Linked DNA regions of Homo sapiens: regions 1, 2, 3, 4 and 6 are each linked to region 5. Evidence: promoter capture Hi-C in 16 types of primary human blood cells and fetal thymus (Javierre and others, 2016). All regions are on one chromosome and are shown on one strand. The core of a region is centred on a gene start or on the middle of the fragment in contact, and the rest is flanking DNA. Distances in the headings are between cores, read along the strand shown. Region 1 holds the start of GABRE (gamma-aminobutyric acid type A receptor subunit epsilon). Region 2 has its middle 8.1 kb from the start of PRRG3. Region 3 has its middle 56 kb from the start of CNGA2. Region 4 has its middle 66 kb from the start of MAGEA4-AS1. Region 5 holds the start of GABRQ (gamma-aminobutyric acid type A receptor subunit theta). Region 6 has its middle 38 kb from the start of CNGA2.

Region 1 (3,796 bases), core at 1,192-3,691, 660 kb before region 5:
CTCATGTCTGAAGTGGCTACTTCCCATTGTGGGCGAGGGAAGAACTGGGCTTGGAAAATACAGTTTCTACTTTCAAATGCCATATCTAGAAGATGTCCTCTTTCCCTGAGGCCAAACTCCCAGCCATCTCAAAAGATAAGGGCCAGTGACTATGGGAAGAGAGGAGGAAAAATGGAGCCCTGAGACCCTGTAAAATGAGTGATGTGGCTGGAAACGTGGCACAATCAGAACTGGCAGTCAGTGGTAGACTGAGCACTGCCAGACAGGACCACCTAAACGCCTGAAGCAGCCCCTCCCAGATGTCTGAAATCCATGGACGAGATCCTCCCCGCTGCCCCAAGTTTAAAAGTGCAGAGGCAAACAAATAAACCTGAAAGCACTGAGACCACCAAAGCCCTCCTGCCCCTAGACTAGGTCTGCAATAAAAATGATATCAGAGGGTCATAAGGTGGCTTTAATCCTAAAATTGGCTTTTGCCAGTTAAAAAAAAAAAACACAACAATAAACAAACAAAACAAAACCTCATCTTGAGGTCCTTGGGGTTAAAGAGCTGCTGACAATGCATACCTTTCCCCAGCCAGCCATTAAGCTCACTTTCGGGGCTAGACAGAATAAAAACTTGAAAAACACTCACACATTGGAATAGTGGCATTTTCCAGGGCAGTTTTTCAGACATTCACATGTCTCTAGACATAATGGTCCAGCATGAAGTTGAATCTCTGCACTACCCCCTCCCAAACAGTCGACTGTTGGTGGTGTGAGAAGTGGGGGGGGGAGGGGCGCATAAGAAAAGATGTTGGATTTTTTTCTAAATCAGATCTTTTTTTTCATTCTACAGATGGACAAACTGAGGCCCAGATAGAGGAAGGACTGTGCCCCAAGTCACACAACTAATTTGAGGCTAAGCCTGGACCAGGGAGAGGTCTTCTGGTTCAGTGTGGCCCAGTACACCCCATTGTCACCTCCTCAGCTCTTTCCTGACACCACAGGTTGCTATGCTTGAAGGGCAGTTTCCATTTCCCCAGTCCCTTTTCCCTGCTGTTTTCCTCTCTGACCACCCCTTCTTATTTCCCCCACCCCAGAGCCATCTTTTGCCCTAGCCAGTCACCACGTCAGCTTTCTCAACTAGTCCACATCCCATTTTGAGGGATGTGGATGACTGGAAATTGCTAGCACGCATAGAAAGACATTTATCAAGCTCCTGCTGAGGCTAGCCCCACTCCAGGGCACCAGTGAGCCAGCAAGCAGCTACACATCCCCTTCTCTGATGAGCTAACGCAATCTGGGGTAGGGAGAGAAGCCACCCTCCCTCCCCAGAACAGACAAACAAGACACAAGCCCAGTGCCATGGAATCTTCGAGAAAGCTCCACAGATCAGGAAGCTTGCAAATTTGTGACACTTCACACACAGCAGGAACCATCTCAAAACAACAACAACAAAACGAAGCAGTCATCTTCCACCCCAAAAAGCCACAAATCCAGGGCACGACCCTCCTAGCCAAGTCTCAGGGCGAGGAGAAGGTGTGAGGGAAGATGGTTGTTCAAGGGAAACCTGAAAGGGGAGAAGGGGATTGAAATCTACGGCCCAAACCACAGACTTCAGAGGAGAATAATATTCCTGGCCTCTGGCTCCAGTCTGCCCAAGGCCCAGCAGGGTGTCTAGGGATGAGTTAAGGAAGTGGGAGGCTGTCAGCGGTGGAGAGGGGGCATAGCTGGTGCGGGAACCCTTAGACTAAACCAAAGCTCGTGCCTGAGACTGGCACCAACAGGAGCAGCGGCATGGGAAGCAAGTAATGTCAGAGTTGCCTGGCGCAGTGCCTGGAACTCAGTAGGCACTCTTAAAAAAAATGTGAGCAGCAGAGAACACACGAGGCAACACTCACACATTTTTGGCGCAGCTAAGCTCCCTCAGCCCGCGCACCCCCTTCTCAAAATGCACCTCCGGCCCCCCCAGTAGCTGAAGCCTGCCCTGGCCGGTCACCCCGGGGCCGCTCCCCTGTTCCTGCGCAAGACTCCGAGGAGTGCTTGTCACCAGGCCACCGCAGTGCTTCTGAGAGCGGGAATCCGCGAACTGGAGTCCCGTCTTCCTTCTGGCGTCCTGTCTTCCTTTTGGAGCTCCCCCTCAAGGACCCCGGGAGCCCATCCTACAGTGAGGCGGGCCGAGGCCGGCGCGCATCGAGGGGACGCGGGACTCGGCCAGCCCGCGGTAGGGCCGGGGCAAAGCGGGCGCGGGGCTCGAGGAACGCGGGGCCGCTGGGGTCCCGGGAGCCGTCCCGGCTCCCGGGGAGAGGGAGCTGGGCGCGAAGGGCTCCCGGGTCCCGGGATGGAGACTCACCTCGACTGGAGGATCAATAAGATGCCTAGGAGGACTGGAAGAACTTTGGACAACATTTCCGCGGAGACCGGCGCGACCACCTGCGCGGAGGTCGCGGCTCACGCTCTGGCCGCACTGAGCGCGGGGCGGAGGCTTTTGCTGGGCTCCAACTTTCACTCCTCCCACTCGCCCCGCCCCGTCCCGCGCTCCCCGCCCCAGGCCCGCCCCGATGGAAATCTCCGACGACGTGACGGCTGCTGCGGTGGGGAGCCGGGGAGGCTCGCGCGGGCGCGGGAAGGAGGCGGGAGCCCGGTTGCTGAGGCCCCCCGTCCCCACGCCGCCACTGCGGCGCTGCCAGACAGCCAGGGGCGGGGGAGGCGGAGGGAGGAGGCGGCGAGCCCGCGGCGCGGGGCCTGGGCGGGGGAAACTCGCGCCCCAGGCTGTGGCCGGCAGGGAGCTGCTTCAGGGACAAGATGTGGGGCTGGATGTGCTCACGCCCCAGAGGCGACCCCCTCCTGCCCGCTGGCACGCCGCGGGGTCAAACTGTGCTCTCCAGCCGTGGCTTCCTCCCCGCCACCTGTTGCACCCCATTGCTTCCCCAAGTGTCCTGGCTTCAACCTCCCTCTCTGGTTTTCCCAGCTCTCAGCCCACAATCTTCAGTCCTTCGGAATACAAGTCTTGTCGTATGAAGGAAGCCGGGTAACTCAGCACCTTCCTTGGCACCGAGAAGAAGAGAGACAGGGGTCTCCCCAGCAAGCTCTGATGTGAGGTATTCCACAGGGCAAATTCCCAGGTATTTGGGGGCAGGGAGGACCCGCCAACAGAGGACCAGGCGGAGACATTCACTGGAGAATTTTCTCTGAACCCCAAGGGGGCACTGCCACAATGTGGCTCCCGCTTTGGCCCCAGAAGCTGAGTGTGAGAGGGACCAACTGGAATAGAGGAGGCTTTGGAAACCTCCTTGAGACTGGATGGCCGAATCTTTCTGGAGACTTGGCACCAGGTGATAGCAGAAGAAGACACGAGAAGGCACAGAGGGGGAAGGGGAAGGGGCAGTGCCCCACTTCAGGGGAGACACGTCAAGAGTCTCAAGCATACTTGGACTTCATCTTCTTTCCCTAGACCCTTCTGATTTGCTTCAGAAGGAGAAGGAATGGCAAAGATTTGTGTACCAAGCTGATGCCAGACGCTGGCAGCATCCTCACCTGTTGCTCCAGAAGGGGCTGTGTGCATCCTTGAAGAGGCTTAGCTCTACCACACTCACCTACAACACCCTCTTCACCACCCCACCTCCCAAGCACATCACTCTGCTTTGTCCTCTTCACAACACTGCTCACTCATTGATGATTATCTTGGGCATTTTTTATGAGCTTGTTTACAGTGGGTCTCTCCTACTGAAGTAAGCTCAGGGACAAACACACACATGCATACACACAAAATGTGTCTGTTGGGGTCTCCACTGTATCCCTAAGACTTAGCAGA
Region 2 (3,513 bases), core at 906-3,405, 950 kb before region 5:
CCCATGAGATCTCAAGATATTGTTAAGGGCAAAAAGGCAGTTCATAATTCCTTTGTGTGTGTGAAAAAAAAATGTACGTGAAAGAAAACATACAGAAGGGTAGAAAACATACAGAAGGATAAATAGGAAAGTACTAAAGTGATTCTCAACAGATCAGGGGATTATGGGTGAATTTTAACTTTCTATTTCATGTATTTGTGTTTTGCCTGAATATTTTATAATGTATATTTTATGAATTGTATAATTAGATTAAAAAAACAAAGGAAATTAAAAAACTTTTTACAGTGTATGAACTAAATGATGTAAAATTGAATTTGTAGAGTGAAAAATAAGAAGGTGATATGTAAACATTTTAATAATGGCTTTCTCTGGCTGGTGGAATTGTGAGTGGTCATTTTCAAAATTGCCACCATGAGAACATATTATTTTTAGAATCAGAACAAAAAGATACATGTATAATTCCTATGCTACATGGTGTGGAATGATATGAGAAAGGCAGGAGGGAGCTGAGGTTACAGAAATGTACAAGACAGAAATGTCCCTGACCTCATGAGACCAATAATCTGGTGGGAAAGACAGACCGATCACAAGGAAATAGGAGTGAATCAGAAAAATGTCAGAGGGCAAATGCTCTGGAGGAAAGAAAACAGGAGCTGAGATACAATGTAGAAGGGGATGAGCTATTTGCAGAGTATATCTGGGAAGGCTTCTTTGAGGTTGTGACATTAGAGCAAAAAGCTAAAAGGCAAGAGGGAGCCAGCTATGGAAAATTTAAGGGCGAATCATCTGAGCTAATCTCCTACCACTCTTTTATGGTGATATTTGATGTAGACACACTGAGCTTCTGTCAGATTCCTGTGTCCCTAGTTCCACAGGACAGTGCCAAACCAAAGATCAGATTATGGGCAACACAAGAGGTGGGTGCTCTGTTGCTAAGGAGCCAATACCACATACTAAAAACTATACTCTAAGGTAGGGAGGGAGGTGTCTTAGTCCATTTGGGCTGCTATAACAAAACACCTTAGACTGGGTAACTTATACACAGCAGAAATTTATTGCTCACAGTTCTGGGGGCTGGAAAACCCAAGATCAAGGCACCAGCAGATTCAGTGTCTGGTGAGGGCTGTCTTCGGATGGCTCTGTTTTCATGGCCTGATCATCCCTTAAAGTCCCACCTCTTAGTACTATCACATCACATTGTTAATCAGGTTTCAACATATGAATTTTCTGAGGGACATAAATATTCAGATCAAAGCAGGGGGCTAGGTGGAAAGTCCCATCCCTCACTAGAACCAGGGAAGTGGGTGAAGAATTGCCTCATGGTAGCCTTGCATAATAGAAAGGAGAGTGGAAAAGGGTCTTGTGGCAGCTCCTCACAGGACTTCCCATCTTCTGACATTCCTGGGAGGATCATCAGGCACTCCGCCAAGACTGGACTCAGACTGTGGTTGAGCCTTGCCTCTGGCCTGTGTGAAATCTTTCCCTCCACTCCTTGTGCCTCATACATGCCAACCACACTTTTGTCCCAGGGCCTTTGCACATACCATTTCCTTTTACAAGAATACTCTTCTCCCAGTTATCTACGCAGCTATCACCCTTATTCCTTTAAATGCTTCTCGAATGTTACTTCTCAGTGAGTCCTTCCCTGACCAACTAGTTTAAAACTGCAATCCAGAGGCAAAGCAAGATGGCCAAATAGAAAACTCTACTGATCGTCCTCTCTGCAGGAACACTGAATTGAACAACTGTCCACACAAAAGAAGCACCTTCATAATAACTGAAAATCAGGTGAGCAATCACAGTTCCTGGTTTGATAAGAACCAAAAATCAGGTGAGTAATTACTGTTCCTAGTTTTAACTTGATATCACTGAAAGAGGCACTGAAGAGGGTAGGAAAGACAGTCTTGAGTCACCAATGCCACTTCTCTCCCATCCCCTGGCAGTGGCCAATAGTCTGGCATGGAGAAAGAATCTCTGAACCTGGTGGAGGGAGAGTGCAGTGATTGTGAGATTTTACATTGAAACTCAGTGCTGCCTTGTCAAGTGGAAAGCAACACCAGGCACAGCTCAGCTGGCACCTATGTAAGGAGCATTTAGACCAGCCCTAGCCAGAGGGGAATAACCCATCCCAACAGTTAGAACCTGAGTTCTGGCAAGCCCCACTACTCTGGGCTAAGATGCTCTGGGGTTCTAAATAAACTTGAAAGGCAGTCTAGGCCACAAGGACTGCAATTCCTGGGCAAGGCCTGGTGCTGAACCAGGCCCAGAATCAGTGAACTTGGAGTGCACATGACCTAGTGAGATGCCAGCTGATGTGGCCTAAGGAGTGCTTATGTCATCCCTCCACTAACCTCAGGCAGCACAGCTTGCAGCTCCAGGAGGAGAGGGAAGAGTAAAGAGGACTTTGTCTTGAAACTGGTATACCAGCTCAGCCACAGCAAATTAAAGTACCAAGCAGAGTCCTGAAGCCCCTGTGGGCCATAGCTCCTGGACAACATTTCTAGACCCACCCTGGGCTAGAAGGGAACCCACTGCCCTGAAAGGAAGGACCCAGTCCTGGCAGAATTCAACAGCTTCTGACTAAATAGCCCTTGGTCCTTGAATAAACATCAACAACAGCCAGGCAGCAGTCACCACAGAACTTTGGCAAAACACAGTACCATGCTGGCTGCAGGTGTGACCCAGAACATCCCCAGCTGTGGTGACTATGAGGAGGGACTACTTTTGCTTGAGAAAAGGAGAGGGAAGAGTAAAGGGGACTTTGTTTTGCAGCTTATGTACCAACTCAGCCACAGTGGGGTAGAGCACCAAGGAGGCTCATGAGATTACCAATTTCAGGCCTTAGTTGTTGGACAGCATTTCTGGACCTGCCCTGAGCCAGAGGGGAGCCCACTGCCCTGAAGGGAGAGTCCCAGGCCTGGCAGTATTCAACATCAGATGATTAAACAGCCCTTGGGCCTTGAAGGAACATCAGTGGTAGCCAGACTGTACTTGTCGTGGGCCTTGGGTGGTGGTAGCCGTGGGGAAGGCATGACCTCTGCTTGGGGAAAGAGGAGGCAAGAATGGGAAGGACTTTGTCTTGTGGCTTGGGTGCCAGCTCATCCACAGTAGAATAGAGCACCAGGTAGATTCCTAAAGTTTCTGAGTCCAGGCCCTGGCTCTCTGATGGCATCTCTGGACCCACCTGGGACAGTGGGGACTTGCTGCCCTGAAGGGAAGGATACAAGCCTGGCTGGCTTCACCACCTGCTGATTGCAGAGTCCTAGGGCTTTGAGCAAACATAGGCAGTAGACAGACAGTGGTTATCACAAGCCTTGAGTGAGGCACCAGTGCCATTCTGGCTTCAGGTGTGATCCAGTGCAGTCCCAATTGTGGTGGTCACAAGGGTGCTTATGTCATCTCTCCCCCAGTTCCAGGCAGCTCAGCACAGATACATATCTCCCCCCCACCCACACACACACAGAGAGAGAGAGAGAGAGAAAGAGAGAGAGAGACTTCATATCTTTGGGAGAA
Region 3 (3,754 bases), core at 1,038-3,537, 850 kb before region 5:
GGCAATACAAGTTCAGTCAGAGAACTCTCTGGTGATGCTTGAGACGGACAGAATTCTCAAGCCTCCTTAGTTTCATTCATGATATGCCATCAGACTTTGGTCCTATGAATCAAGAACTTGGATAATTTGTTTTCTGTAACCTCCACATGAAAGAGGAAGTAAAGTCTTCTCTAGGGCCCTCCATTGTCACTGCCATATGGGCCGACTGGAAAACGGGAAGAACATCCAAGGGGAAGACAGTGGTCTGCACACCGATGTTTGGGCTGGGACCTATACAAGGGAAGGCCTCCAGGAACTGGAGGCCTGCTCCAATTGCTGCGAATAATCAGTGAGGGGGTTCAGCCAGCGGTCATTGCCATGAGTCACAGAGCTAACAGCCAAGGCCAAACCACAGGCCAGGAGTGACACACTGAGATTCTGGGACCAGGCAGTCTCTGCTTAGACTTGACCAGGAGAGGTAGCAGTGGAAGGCTGGAAACAGAGAGCGATGAAAGAAGGAATGCTAGCAGATACCAAACTTCTGGGCATTCAGAGTCATTCCTGAGATGGTTGGTCATGTAGTGTGGAAGAGGACTCACCTGCAAGGTTCCTCAGAGTGGATCAGCTAAGACCAGAAGCTAGATGAGTGGCTGAGGCAGGCAAGAAACCCCAAACGGCAAAGTTAGCAGCAGGGATGCAGGATAGGGGCTGAAATGGAATACAGGCTTCTCTGGGACTGGGCTGAAGATCTAGGTTTCTAGGTGTAGATGTCTGGCCAGACAGAGGCTGATTAGGGGAAAGAGTGGGGCAGAGATAGGCATTTTAGGAAAATCCACGCCAGTCCAAAGTGGGCAGAGGCCCTGTTGGAAGCTGAGTCCCAGACTGGTCATGGTAGAAATGGCAGGTGTGATTGCAAGGACTCACAGGGTCTCAGATAAGTCTATAGACAGAGATGGACAAAGGGCTAATAGGGACCTCTGGGTTCTGTGAAACTCTCCAGGTGTGTCCTTGTGACTGGCCTTCTTCCCAGAACTCCCCTCACTTCCTTTCCATTGGCTCTATGGCCATTGTCAGCTTGCACTCCACTCCTCTTTCCCTTTTGTGCTCCTCTCCTTCGTTTGGACAATGACATGTGAGTCTTCCTGGCTCCCAATTTCATTTCTCCTGTCCTAAAGAAGTAACAGGCTTTTTGTACTGAGGACTTCTGGGAGATATTCTGGAATCTTTCAAAGGCCTCCTATACAACCCTTTTTGTCTGGTTTTCATCTCCTCACTTTTCCTTAACTTCCTTTGTGATAGTGCCCATAATCCCATGCCTCAGAATTTCTCTACTATCCCGGATGGAAAAGCTCATCACACTTTTCCTATTTCTTTGAACTCTCCCATTTCCCAGAGTGACAATTTCTTGTCTCCAAAGCCTTCTTCCTAGTTTTTATCTAAAAAAATTTTATAAACCACAATGGATGCCTATCTTCCAATCAGACTTAAATGAGTCTTTCCCATCTCAGAGGCTGTAGATGAAGCAACTCTCATGTCCCTGGAACCCTATTCCTGCCCCATGGAAAAAGCCACAGTTGGGCATTTCCTACAAGGAACTAGAGTAGAGCTACAGTGGAGGACTCTGACGCTGGGTCTGATTTCACAGCACATGTGGAAAAACATTTATGTATGCTTGTTTAGAAATCTAATTATGGTCTTGGAATATTCTTTTAAACATTCCATTCTGGCATTATTCAGTTTCCCAAGTCCAAATCCTAACAGAAAAAAAGTTTAGGGAGTGGTAATTTCTAAGGGATCATCCAACATATATTATGAATACCATACACTCTGGCTTAGAGGGCAAGGGACTTAGTTTTAAAGAAGGAACATTTAATCCCTCTTAACTGAAGAAAAAACAATCACAGGGTTTCATGCTGGAAAGTAGCCCATACATGGCTATCTTTATTTCTCTTTTGGCTTCTTTCAGATTCCTTGGAAACAAAGTCAGGAGCACTATAATGAGGAGAAAATGACAGCTCTGATTAATGACTTCAGAAGATGGCTATTAGAAAAGAGCCACAAGAATGATTCCTTCAACGTTGCAGCTCATGACCAGGGGAGAGTGGTGTCAAAGGAAATACGGCCAAGTCATTCTTCTTTCTTAGATTCTTTGCTTGAGATAGCAGACAGTCAAAAATTTGAAGGAAGCTTAGTATAAACCTGGCATAGAAACCAGTGGATTAAGTAAGAGAAAGAGAGGGAAAGTACTAGAATTAATGAATTTAGGCTTATCAAGTAAGTGTTTTTTTTTTTTCTTCAAAGTTCTTAGGGGCTTGTGTTTCCCTAAATCTTGCTTTAGTTTTGTATCACATTTAAATAGCCATTCTAGTTTATCTTGTTGCTTCGCCATATTAGTAAAGTGCTTTCCTTGTTAGGTTAAAATTTAGTAGTAAAGCTTATTAATCTCATTTATTTAGCCATTCCCCAACAAAGTCCCACTGTTTGTACCAGAAAGACATAACCAAGGCTCTGATACCTACTACTCGGTGGCCGTCCTAACTGTGGGATGATACTAGAGAGGAAATAGCCATCTTCTTAGAGTCTGCCCACACAATCTCACATTTGTACAATACTGGCAATTCTAAATCTGTTTGATGGACAAGGTGCCCACTTAACGTCCTTGTGATGGGGATTTGTGGGAAACAAGACCCAGCTGAGACTTCCAATCCAGAGAACCTCAGGTAGCTCACTGGCCCCATTTCTGCCTTTTGGGGGATTATCAGTGTGCCTGACTTTGCCTTGGAGATTGGCCCCTTGCTGATAAACTACGTATGGTCTTGGAGGTCACAGAAGGAAGAGACACAATAAATTATCCTCTAATTGACTAGAACCAATGAATCTGACCTTTTCTGAACAAAGCTATGAATCTTTCAACAGTGAAGCAGCTACTTGGCAGATTAGTCATTGTCAGGTTTGTAAAGGGCTGACCTACCCAGACAGAATGGCTCCCCAATATTGGCAAGATGGAAGAATCTGCACTCACACAGCTAAGCCCACCTCTGCATATTGTCAGGGATTTGGTTGCTTATGTGTTTTGGAGGGAGGTGCATGTGGGGCAAACTAAGGAATAGGTCAGAAATGGTTGACAAATTGGCAAAGATCGAAGGCTAGCTAGGTCATCAAGGCGTTAAAGTGAACATAGAGTACCAGATTTCAGGAATGACCAGGAGACAGGTGGGCCAGACAGTGGGGAAGAAAGCCACAAACGAGGAAAAAAACATTTAAGGCAAACTGAGGAACATAGGAATCAGTAGGCTCTCTCCATAGTGCTCATGGGGCCTCCAATTCTCTAGCAGAGAGCTGTGTCTGGCTCAGGTAGAGCCTAGTCTTCCTAGGGTCCTGGAGAGACCTGCATAGAGAACTGCTTTCCTGAGCTGCAGAGGACATGGTCAACCATTCCTGTTGGCTACAGTCAATTCTGCTCTGGTGGGAACAAGCTAGCTTGAAGTTCCAACTATGGAGTATATCTCATCAATCAAATAAACTTTTATTTTCTGACACCTACATTGCTCAGAAAACTGTTTGAGGCCAGGCCAGGCCAACGCAGTTGGAAGGCACTGGCTATAGAACAAAGCTCAAGACCTTCATCCACCTTGAGACTCTCTGAGCTGGTCCCAGTCTATCTTTCCAGGTTCACCTGCTACCTCCATCCCTCACTAGTGAAACCTTTTCTTTAGTCGCATGGATTGACTTGCTGCTCCCCAAACTCATGCCCCTCCCTGCTACTGTGCCTTTG
Region 4 (3,593 bases), core at 371-2,870, 790 kb before region 5:
GACAATAGGCCATTTGCAAGAAACACAGCTTAAATGTAAAGACTCCAACTGGCTGAATATAAGAGGGCCCCAAAAGATATGCCACGCAACTACTACAAAAAAATGCTGGTCTGGCTATACTGATATAAGACAAACTAGATTTAAAATAAGAACAATTTTCATTAAAAAGAGGTACATTCCCTATAATAACATTGTCAACTAATCAACAAGATATAATACAACTAATAATAGAGCCTCAAAGTATGTGAAGCAAAAATTGACAGAAGGGGAGGGAGAATAGATATAGTTGAATATGTTAATATGTCTCATTCGGCAACTGATAGAAGTACACAGACAGAAAGGATATAGAATTGTGAACACTATCCAACAACTATTGACAGATTTTTCACATTTACACAGAGCATTAACCAAAATAAACCATAATCTCGGCCATAAAACAAGTCTCAATATTTTTCAGCAGAAACTGTATAAGCCAGAGGAGAGTGGGATGATATACATGAAGTGTTGAAGGAAGAAAAAGGCCTGCCAATCAAGAATACTTTATCCAGCAAAGCTATCCTTCAGAACTAAAGGAGAGAGAAATATTTTGCCAGACAAACAGAAGCTGAGGGAGTTCATCACCGCCAAATCTGTCTTAAAAGAAATGCTAAAGAGAGTTCTTCAGTTTTCAGGCTGAAAGCAAAGGGCAGTAATGACTAACACTGAAGCATTTTAAAGTATAAAACTCACTGGTGAAAGTAAGTACAGTCAGCTTCACAATACTCTAATACTGTAACGATGGTGTATAAATCAGTCAAATCTTTAGTATGAAGGTTAAAAACAAAACTATTAAAAACAATAAGGATAATTATAACAATTTGTTAAGGGATATGCAATACAAAAGATGTGAATGATGCTGTCAAAAATTTAAAATGTGAAGTAGAGAGTGTCATTAAAATGTAGTTTTTTATGACTATAAAAGCTTACTTGTTACCAGCTTAAAATAACCTGTTATATCATGAGATATTTTTGTAACACTTAGTGTAGCCACAAAGCAAAAAGTTATAATAGATACAATAAAAATAAAATGCAAAAACCCAAAATATACTATTAAAGAAATTCACTTAACCACAAAGGTAGATAGTAAGAGAGGAAGAAAAGATCTACAAAACAACTAGAAAAAAAAATAACAAAATGATAGCAATAATTCCTTACCTACTAATAATCACCTTGAATGTAAATTCAAGACACAGAATGGCTGGAATGGATAAAACAAACAAACAAACAAACAAAAAAAAACCCCAGCTATATTCTGGTTTATATGCTCATTTCACTGTTAAGGACACTCAAGACTGAAAGAAAAGGAATGGAAAATATATTCCATGCAAATGGAAACCAAAAGAGAGCAGAAGTAGCTATACTCAGATAAAATAGACTTCAAGTCAAAAACTGTAAAAATAAACAAAGATTATATAAAGATAAAGGGGTCAATTCAGCAAGATAATACAACAATCATAAACACATATGCACCCAACATTGGAGTACCTAAATATATCAAGCAGGTATTAATAGATCTGAAGAGAAACATTGACTATCCAATACAATAAGAGTAGAGGACTTCAATACCCCACTTACAGGAACAGACAGATCATTCAGACAGAAAATTAACAAAGAAACATCAGCTTTAAACTGCTCTCTAGATTAAATGGACCTAACAGACATTTATAGAACATGCCATCAAACAGCTACATTATATACAATCTTCTCAACTGCACATGGAACATTCTATAGGAAAGATAATATATTAGGCCACAAAACAAGTCTTAATAAACTTAAGAAGATCAAAATCATTTTAAGTATCTTTTTTATTTTAGAAAGAGGGTCTTGCTCTGTCACCTAGCATGATTATAACTCAAAGTAGCCTTGAATTCCTGGGCTCAAGTGATATTCTCGAGTAGTGAGGACTGCAGGTATGTGCCATCACACCTGGCTAATTTTTAAAATTATTTGTACAGATGGGGTCTCACTATGTTGACCAGGATGGTCTCAAACTCCTGGCCTCAAACAATCCTTCCACCTTGGCCTCCCATATCACTGGGATCACAGACCTGAGCCACTGTGTCTGGCCCCAAATATCTATTCTGACCACAATAGTATAAAACTAGAAACTGATAACAGGAGAAATTTTGGAAACTTTACAAATAGATGAAAATTAAACAACGTGCTCTTGAAACCAATGGGTCGATGAAGAAAGTAAAAGGGAAATTAAAACTCTAGCAAAACCTTTTTAATAAAATCTAACAAGCTTAATCACATATATATATATGTTCAAAAGATTTTTAATATGTTAATCTTGAACAAGAAGAACACAGTTGGAGGACTTACACCATCTAATTTTAAGACTTACCATAAAGCTACAGTAATCAAGTTATTGTGGACTGGTGAAAGGATAGATGCATAGATCAATGGAACAGAATAGAGAACTCAAAAATAGATAAGCTGATGTTTGACTAAGATGCCAATGTAACTCAATTGGGAAAATATTTTCTTTCAAGAAATGGTGTCAGAACAACTGGATATCCAAAAATAAATCTTGATTCTTTTCTCATGCAAGTCACAGATATTAACTCGATGTGGATAATAGACCTAAACATAAAAGCTGAAATCATGAAACTTTTGAGGAAACATAGGAGAAAAATTTTTTAACACTAAGTAGGCAAAGCTTTCTTAACTAAGACACAGAAAACCTAAACCATACGAAAACAATAATTTGTACTTCACCGGAATTAAAACCTTCTGCTTTTCAGAAGACATTTATGTTTAGAAAATAAAAGGACAGGCCAGAGTCAGGGGTTATATTCACAAATCATATATTTGATGCAGGACCTGTATGTTGAGTCTATAAAGAACTCTTAAAATTCTGTAATATGAAGAAAAACAAATAAATTATAAATGGGCAAAAGATTTGAATAATAAACTTCACAAAAGAAGATATATGAATAATCTATAAGTACTTGAAAAGATTTTCATTGTCATTAGTCATTAGGGAAATGCAAATTAAAATAACAAGATACCACTAAACAGACAAAAGAATTAATAAAGTTTTAAATAATAAGACACACAATACCAAGACAGAACACACCAAGTGCTGTTGAGAATGTGGACTAACTAGAACTTTCATGTATTACGAGTGAAAATGTAAATTGCACAGGCATTTTGGAAAACCAGTTTGCCATGGTCCAATAACATTTAGCATACATTTATCATACAAGATAGCAATTTTACTTGTAGGTATTTACCATAGTGAATCAAAACATATGCCCACATAAATGTTAATAGCAATTTTATTCACAAGAGCCAAAAACTAGAAACAACCCTCATGTCCAGGAAAATGTCAATAGATTTAAAGAAAATAGTGCATTAATATACTGTGTACCCTATGTGAAGCAATTCCAATTCTAATAATTTACTCAAAAAATAGAAACATATCCACACAAAAGCTTGTTTGTGAATATTTATAGAGGCATTATTTATTATAGCAAAAACTAGAGGTGACCTAACTGTCCATCAGCTGGTGCATGAATAAAAATTTTAGTGTATCTAGAATGTAGAAT
Region 5 (3,428 bases), core at 682-3,181:
CAATCTTCATAGTCACAAGGGTACCTAAGAACAAAATTTCAGGCTTCAGGCTTGTTTCCCCTAACAAATGAGCGACCAGACCAATTGCCTGTGGAATTTGATTCCTCAGTGCTGGGAACATCCCACATTCAAACAAATCTGCTCCCACCTGCTGGTGGTTGCTAGAACTTCCAGTCAAAGCTGACTTAGACTGAAAACGCACTCTTCTCGAAGTAAGCAGACCTGGAAATGTGGTTTTTAGTTTTGGCCTCTGCTACTGTGTGACCTTGGGCCAATCCCTTTTTCTTCTCTGGGCTTCAGTTTCCCTACATTACAACCGAGGTGGCTGGACAAAATGCCCCGGAATGGCTCTAACATTTTTGGCAAACAAGGATTTTCTCTACAAGGACGTCTGTGTGACCAGAGGTGATGGGACAGGACTGGTAGCAGTAGAGGTGGGTTTAATCTGCTCTCATATGTGATCCTGACAAATGGGTCCCATCATCCTTTTTTCTTACTGCAATGGCCAGGGAAAGAGGGGAGATGGGAAAGAAAGGTGTGAGGGTGTTCTGCTCATTAAAAGAAGGCAGGAAACTATGAGAGACATTTTTCATAAAAGTATGGTTCTAAAATGATTTTAAAGGGGGAGTGGTAAAAGAGTTAAACCCTCAGCTGTGCAAAACTGCTTGGCCTACCAGGTAAGTCATGCTTTGCTGGGCACCAGCAATCTCAACTCATTTCATCAAATACTGAGGGGAAAAAAAGGGGGAGATGTTGTGTTTCTCAGTGAATGTTCTAGGTAACCAAAAGTAAACCTGAAATCCGTTTTGATTTCAACTCTTCTCAATGGTGTGATGTGGGAGGTGGCATGCCGGTGAACATGGCAGCTCTGTTTGTTGATTACCCATTTGCCCTATGGGCTCTGGTGAGGCCACTTTCTAAGCTTTCTGAACTTGCTTTGTCATGGGATAGGAAGGACATAGGAAATTGGGTGGAGGCATTTCTTATCCTCCACGATTTTTCTGTCCCATAGGGGCAGAGTCTGAGGTAGTGGAAAGAATAAGAGCCCTCTAGTCAAGATGTCAGGCTTTTCCATATGATGGGGTCAGAACCCAGGAACATTGGCATACCCTGGTCTCCAGTGCCTAACTCCCTTGAACACCCCAAACACTGACCTTGGCCTTTTTTTCCCCTTCTATGGTGTCAGCCATGAACCTTCATTCTGCATCCCCTGGCTGATGAGACACAACCACATCTCAGAGAGACCCCAGTTGGTGAGCCCTTCCAGTTCCTTGAGTCTTTTTCCTGAGTACCCAAAGTTGGGGTGAAGAGCACTCTAGGAAATTTAAGTCTTAAGCAACTCTTGGGCTCCTGTAGCCCAATGTCCATCCTGAGGGAGGAGCAGTCCTGCTGTGGCCAGAGCCCTGTAACAAAACCCATTAGGATCCTCCTTGACCTTATCCAGAGACAAGGCACGCGGGGTTACTGGAGGCTCAAGGGTACGGAGTCACCAGCCGTTGGGTACCTCCTGACGCCCAAAATTGTCCAAGTCTTTCAGAATGCAGATTCAGCCATGGCGGTCAAATTACCACACTCCCTTCACCATCAAATACAACTCTCGGGCACAGGCCCTTTCTTCCAAGAAAAACACACATTTCGCATTTTGCAGAGAAGAGACAGGACCCAGTGCCCCTTGAGGCGGATTCCTGGCCCAGCCCCCAAGGAGCCAGCCCTCCTCCCCCTCCCCCAGCCCGGCCCCGCCCTGCCTGTGTCTGGAGATGGCCGGGGGATGACTGCAGAAGCCTGAAGGGGCGGGGGCCGGGCGGCGCGCAGGCTACGGGCGGAGGCAGGAGCGCGCGCCTTTTTGTGCGGCTCCTGGCAGCTGTCCGATTGGCTGGGCCTGCGATGCCGTCGGAGTGGGCGGAGCCAGCAGCGAGCTGGGATCTGTGCCCAGTCGCAGCCAGGAGCGGCCGCAGACGGAGCGCACCTCGCAGCTGCCGGGCGGGCCCTGGGGGGAGCTGCGTCCAGCAGAGCTGCTGGGTGGTTGCTCCTCCCGGGCTCTCATCTCCGGTATCCGGGCCGACCCCCGCACCCCCTACTTCCCTTGCCCTCGCTGCTCTCTCCTTAGAGGCGACTCTTTGGGGAAGGGCCAGCAATCCCGCCTTCCCCGGCCCCAGTAGTCACCCACTCTCCCACCCCACCTCTGTTCCTTTTCGCGGCCCCGTCTCCCGCGCCCTCAGGCGCCCAGAACGCCCCGGCCATGGGCATCCGAGGCATGCTGCGAGCCGCAGTGATCCTGCTGCTCATCAGGACCTGGCTCGCGGAGGGCAACTACCCCAGTCCCATCCCGAAATTCCACTTCGAGTTCTCCTCTGCTGTGCCCGAAGTCGTCCTGAACCTCTTCAACTGGTAAGCGGGCACCGCCAGGCTAGGCACGGCGGGGACGGGAATGGAGACGGGCAGACGACCTCTGGCCTCTTGGACGGAGCGGGCTGGGGGCGACTCGGGCTGGGGGGTACTCGGACCCGGGCTCGCTGAGCCCTGGCGCCCGGGCCCTGCCTGTTGGCCCCTAGAAGGGGTAAGGTGGGAGTGGGGTGTTGAAATGGAGCCCTGTGCTTCCGCCCACCTGTTACTGCGGAGCTTGACTGAGCCCTGCGTGTGCCTAAACCGCAGCCCGAGGGGTGGGGGCGGGGGTCGCCCTCGTCCCAGGATCTGTCCATCCATCCCCAAGGATTTAAGGTTCCCGGCAGCTTTCCCCAGCTTTGGCACCTGTGGGATTGGGGAGGAGGGTACAGGATGACGGGCAATTCACAAAACATAGACAGGAGAGACACCTGTTTGAGTCTACATTTTAGTCCATTTCCTGAGGCGCGCGCGCGTGCATGCATGTGTTGAGGGGATGAGGGACTCTTTCCAATGCGGCAGATAGAAATGATTAACTCAAACCCATCGGAGCCCAGACAGTGCGATCGTGTCTGAATAAACACGAACCGTGTGGTCTGGGATGGGTGTGCTTTTGTACTTAGTCGTGTGAAAATATTTGAAGACTCCGGTTTTTTTCTCTTTTTGATTTTAAGTTTGTTTGGGTGTGCGAGTATCTGAAGCCTTTACATGTAAATCACACAGAAATGTGTATTTGGGGTGGCCACAGATCCTGAGCGTTGGCACATGGGTAATGTGTGCTTGGAAACAGGTGGGAATGCATTGCTTTAATTTGGGAATAATTCATGTGCACATTTTGGGATGCTGCAAAATGAAATTTTTGATTAAAGATGATTAGGAATAATTTTTAACAATGTTTAAATGGCAAGCCAGAAATTAACATGTACTCATAAAGGGGGGGGGGGTGTTTGGCAAGGTTCCAGCAGACAGCCCTGCAGTGCCCTTAACCCAACATACCATACTGCGCCACTGAACATGCACACATGCGCGTGCGCACACACACACAC
Region 6 (3,801 bases), core at 329-2,828, 870 kb before region 5:
ATATACACCATGGAATACTATGCAGCCATAAAAAGAAACTCTATCATGTCTTTTGCAGGGACATGGATGGAGCTGGAGGCCATCATCCTCAGCAAACTAACACAGGAACAGAAAACCAAATAATGTGTGGTGCCACTTATAAGTGAAAGCTGAATGATGAGAACACATGGACACACACTGAGGCCTGTCAGAGGGTGGGGAGGGGTGGGGGGAGGGAAAGCATCAGGAAGAATAGCTAATGGAAGCTGGGCTAAATGCCTGGGTAACGAGATGATCTGTGCGGCAAACCACCATGGCAAACATTTACCTATGTAACAAACCTGCACATCCTGCACATGTACCCTTGAACTTAAAATAAAAGTTGGAAAAAAAAGTTGGTGTTCAACGTGGCATACAGGTCTAATGTGACATGTCTCAGAACTCTGATCTTGATCTTGATCATTCTCACATTTACAGAAGTGATTCAGGTACAGGCGTATAAGGCAGTTGTGCCAAACTTGCCAATGCTCCAAGGTTTGGAGAAAAGGATGGAACTAGCTATAACACCCTAGCCCAACTCAACACGATGACTTCTGAAAGAGTCATTTAAAAAGTCATTATGTTTTAAAAATAAATTGTATGACCCTGATTAAAGAACTCAGGCCCTGAAGAAACTCAGAAGAGAAATACCTCGTTTGGTTAACCATAAAGTTCCAAAGGGGCCTACAGTGCAATGTGACCACAGAACTAGCTGCCACAGTAGTTGGCTGTACAGTGTAGAATGAAGGAAATAATGACTCCCCTCTGATCAGACAATATTCACAGACTTGAGCTCAGTTTTGGGCCCCACACTTGAACTGGGCTGGGTAAAACCTGGCATATGCAGAAAAAAACTACTAGATGGATGGAGAGGAGAAAAATGTGAAAGAACTGTTCAGCGTGGAGAAGAGCGGATTCCTGGTGGAGCATGGCCATCCTCTTGAGGTCTCTGAAAGTCTGTCCTGTGGAGGAGGACCCACAGCTTGCCAACTCCTGGGCCCTAGAAGGAAACCCTAAGATGAATCATCAGGATGCAAGTTGGAGGAAACAATTGGCTGCCTGAGGGGTGGGTTTTGTCAACATAAAAATGTGTCTTCTGTGCTCCCTGCTCCCAATAACACAATGGACTTCACAAAGGCATTCTAGCTGTGAGTACGAAGAAGCATTTCCAGGTGACTGGAGGAGCAGGTGTCAAGGATTCTGCAGCTGGAGACCTCAGGGTTTGAGAAGCCTTTTTCTTACACTCCTGCTCATTTACTTTTTAAGTTGGTCATTCATTCACTCATTCATTCACTGACAAGCCATTCCTAAGAACTGAAGAAGACCCAGGCCCTATCAACAAGGGGCTTCAGGGTTCGAGGGCTTCCTGCAGCCACAGATGATTCCTGAGGTATGCATTCATTAAGATGCACACTGGAAGCAGAGAAGCCTTTTGCAGAGTGCTGTCCCTCTGCTACTAGCCCCTTGTCCTGGAGGTGGAGGTCATGTTCAGTAGAGCTGACCCAGCCTGAGAAGGTCGTAAAGCCCCAAGGGAACCATGCTCAACATTGTGCCTGGCACTGAGCCATAGCCTAAGCATCATTCAGACTGTGGTGTTTGCTGCATCTCCTTCCTGCCTGTTGCCAGAATTGTAGTGGCATTTGGTGGCACCACAGGCAGCAGAAACATCAAGGATCCCTCCCTCAAGGAGGTGTGATTCACCAAAGGTGAGAATAGCCAGATTACAATGCTGCAAAAGCCTTAGAGATAAACTTGCCAATTAGTATGGAAAAGAATGAGGTCCCAAAGGCTTCAGAACCCTGTGTTTGTCTCTTCTCTTTCAGAGCAGCAAAAATTTTGGAGGCAGCCTGGGGTCCCTCCTGAAGCAGAAGAGCCACAACAGGCACTTTGGGATGGAGCTGTCGAGCCACAGCATAAGCCCCCGCACTCACAAATCGACTGGCAAATTCATCCACTGTGGTAGAGATGGATTTGTTTCCCAGGGACACTAGAGGAATGCACAAATATGAAGCCTGCATGTCAGTCCCCCTTCCCACAGGGTTCTGTGCTGCTCCCTTCCACCTAACAGGGGTCTGGGTTAGAGTCAGCCACAACTCCTTACCACATATTTTTCATTTGCTAGCCATTGCCTCGCCCAGGTTGCAAGCCCAGTCTTTTGTCTCTTGTAGTCGGGGTCTCAATTTTGGTATGGGGATAACAAGAGAGGAGTTGTGGGAGGTTGCTCTCCTAGAGCTACTGGCTAGCCCAGGGTAACAACAAACTTCCCTGGCATCCTTTCTCCTGAGCTGACCTGTGGAACTGATGAGCCACAGGTGAGCTTGGGCACATCGCCACAAAGGCAAAGCTGATTTCTCCATGGCTGGGGTCCCTATACTGGGATGCCCTGGCTGGATTAGCTGCCACCAGCTGCTCGAAGGTGGATTCGCATTTCTGCCCCTACTGCAGAGGCCATTTATCATAGTGATGATAGATATTTAATCTGTAGCCTGAGCTGCAAGCACAGTGATAACTGTAGACAGAGGAAAGGTGAGATTCGTAGTCTGTGTTAATGGGGCTGCCTTTATCATGGCCAAATAAATAATGAAAGAAGATGATAACAATGGTGCCTTTATGATCACCATGAAAAGCTCTTACTGCTTCAGGGTTCTGCACTGTGCTGGGCCGCATTTAAAAAGAAGGCAGGCAGAAAGCAAGCAGGCAAAGGGGCTGGGCAGGGCATCAGGCCAGGGACAGGGCGGAGGTCCCCCTATTGGCCTTAGTAAGTATGGCTGCAGCCAACCCTCCATTCTTACCAGTGCCATCGCGACCACCTTTACCACCAGGGCCTCCCCACACCCAAGATCACATACCTGGGTTTTCAGGGTCTTCCTAAAGGACTCCCAAGTCTCCTGTTGACAAAGGATAAGAGAATGGCCACCAATAAATGTTCAGATGATTTAATGGCTTTCCGTGGGATTATTTGAGACAAAACAAACTGGGTGGGGTATGAGTCATGGAGCCAATCAGGTTCTGCCTTTCATAGTAGATGTCGGGGAGACAGACTCAAAGCTGCTTCTGGAGCACCGGAGTTCTCTTTACATAGGACACCCGTCTAAAGTTTTAGAAGCTAGCTGAGTGGAGTGACCACTTCAGAACATTTACTAAGACCTCCAACATTTCTTCTCCTCTCTTCTTTACTGCTTTAGAACAAGAAGAGAGGCAAGAGAGCAAGCAGTCATGGCAAAGAACCCCTAGATGTAATAGGCTCTCGGGGATGCCAAATAAAGTTATCCCCTGAATTACACAGCCAGCTGCTAAAGGGAGGGCAAATGTTGGCAGGTTGTCTGGGAATATAACTTGATACAAAACTTCTGGAAGGCCTTAAGGCTACCACACACAACTCCACAGGACGTTCTACTCAAGCCCGGCTATGTAATTTGCTTGGTGGAAAATAGTAGAAGGTTTGTGAGTGGAGCGCTACCTTTATTTGTCCACTTGCATTTGGAAAACTGTCTCTTTAGAAACACCAAGACTAATATATATTTGTGTTAACCTGTTTAAATCAGGGTCATAACGGTTCTGGAGTAAGTGGCTTTCAAATTCCAGTTCAATCTTGAAATTCTTGCATTGTATTTTGTGATAATAGTCTTATGGATAAATGGAAATGCAGGCTACATTTTCTTCAATGCAGTTAGTAACATTTGTGAGAAGCCAAGCTATTTGGACCATGAGGCAGCAACCCAAGCACCATGATTTCCTCCAAGTTTATTTAACTTGGGACAAAGTACTGGGCAGTACTCCACT

The links. The method cuts DNA at HindIII sites, captures the fragments that hold promoters and counts their contacts. A CHiCAGO score of 5 or more calls a contact.
Region 1: the fragment with the promoter of GABRE here is called in contact with the fragment with the promoter of GABRQ in region 5 in 1 of 17 cell types (endothelial precursors); the score reaches 6.7 in endothelial precursors.
Region 2: a contact is called between a fragment that was not itself captured here and the fragment with the promoter of GABRQ in region 5, in 1 of 17 cell types (endothelial precursors). The highest score is 6.8, in endothelial precursors.
Region 3: a fragment that was not itself captured here is called in contact with the fragment with the promoter of GABRQ in region 5 in 1 of 17 cell types (endothelial precursors); the score reaches 12.7 in endothelial precursors.
Region 4: a contact is called between a fragment that was not itself captured here and the fragment with the promoter of GABRQ in region 5, in 1 of 17 cell types (megakaryocytes). The highest score is 6.3, in megakaryocytes.
Region 6: a fragment that was not itself captured here is called in contact with the fragment with the promoter of GABRQ in region 5 in 3 of 17 cell types (endothelial precursors, megakaryocytes and M2 macrophages); the score reaches 9.0 in endothelial precursors.

The regions. Positions count from the first base shown.
Region 1 is chrX:151,972,235-151,976,030 of GRCh38, forward strand. It overlaps GABRE (gamma-aminobutyric acid type A receptor subunit epsilon), which reads right to left and starts at 2,442. Exons shown (of 9, transcript NM_004961.4): 1 at 2,336-2,442. The coding sequence starts at 2,391. The HindIII fragment of the contact is 4,903 bases long and covers 1,381-3,796 here.
Region 2 is chrX:151,685,586-151,689,098 of GRCh38, forward strand. No RefSeq gene overlaps it. Among named protein-coding and RNA genes, the nearest start is that of PRRG3, 8.1 kb to the right of the region's middle. The HindIII fragment of the contact is 7,812 bases long and covers 1-3,513 here.
Region 3 is chrX:151,788,963-151,792,716 of GRCh38, forward strand. No RefSeq gene overlaps it. Among named protein-coding and RNA genes, the nearest start is that of CNGA2, 56 kb to the left of the region's middle. The HindIII fragment of the contact is 247 bases long and covers 2,165-2,411 here.
Region 4 is chrX:151,843,415-151,847,007 of GRCh38, forward strand. No RefSeq gene overlaps it. Among named protein-coding and RNA genes, the nearest start is that of MAGEA4-AS1, 66 kb to the right of the region's middle. The HindIII fragment of the contact is 1,323 bases long and covers 960-2,282 here.
Region 5 is chrX:152,635,964-152,639,391 of GRCh38, forward strand. It overlaps GABRQ (gamma-aminobutyric acid type A receptor subunit theta), which reads left to right and starts at 1,932. Exons shown (of 9, transcript NM_018558.4): 1 at 1,932-2,388. The coding sequence starts at 2,240. It overlaps MAGEA3-DT (MAGEA3 divergent transcript), which reads right to left. Exons shown (of 5, transcript XR_938525.3): 4 at 1-24. The HindIII fragment of the contact is 4,664 bases long and covers 921-3,428 here.
Region 6 is chrX:151,770,865-151,774,665 of GRCh38, forward strand. No RefSeq gene overlaps it. Among named protein-coding and RNA genes, the nearest start is that of CNGA2, 38 kb to the left of the region's middle. The HindIII fragment of the contact is 6,140 bases long and covers 1-3,801 here.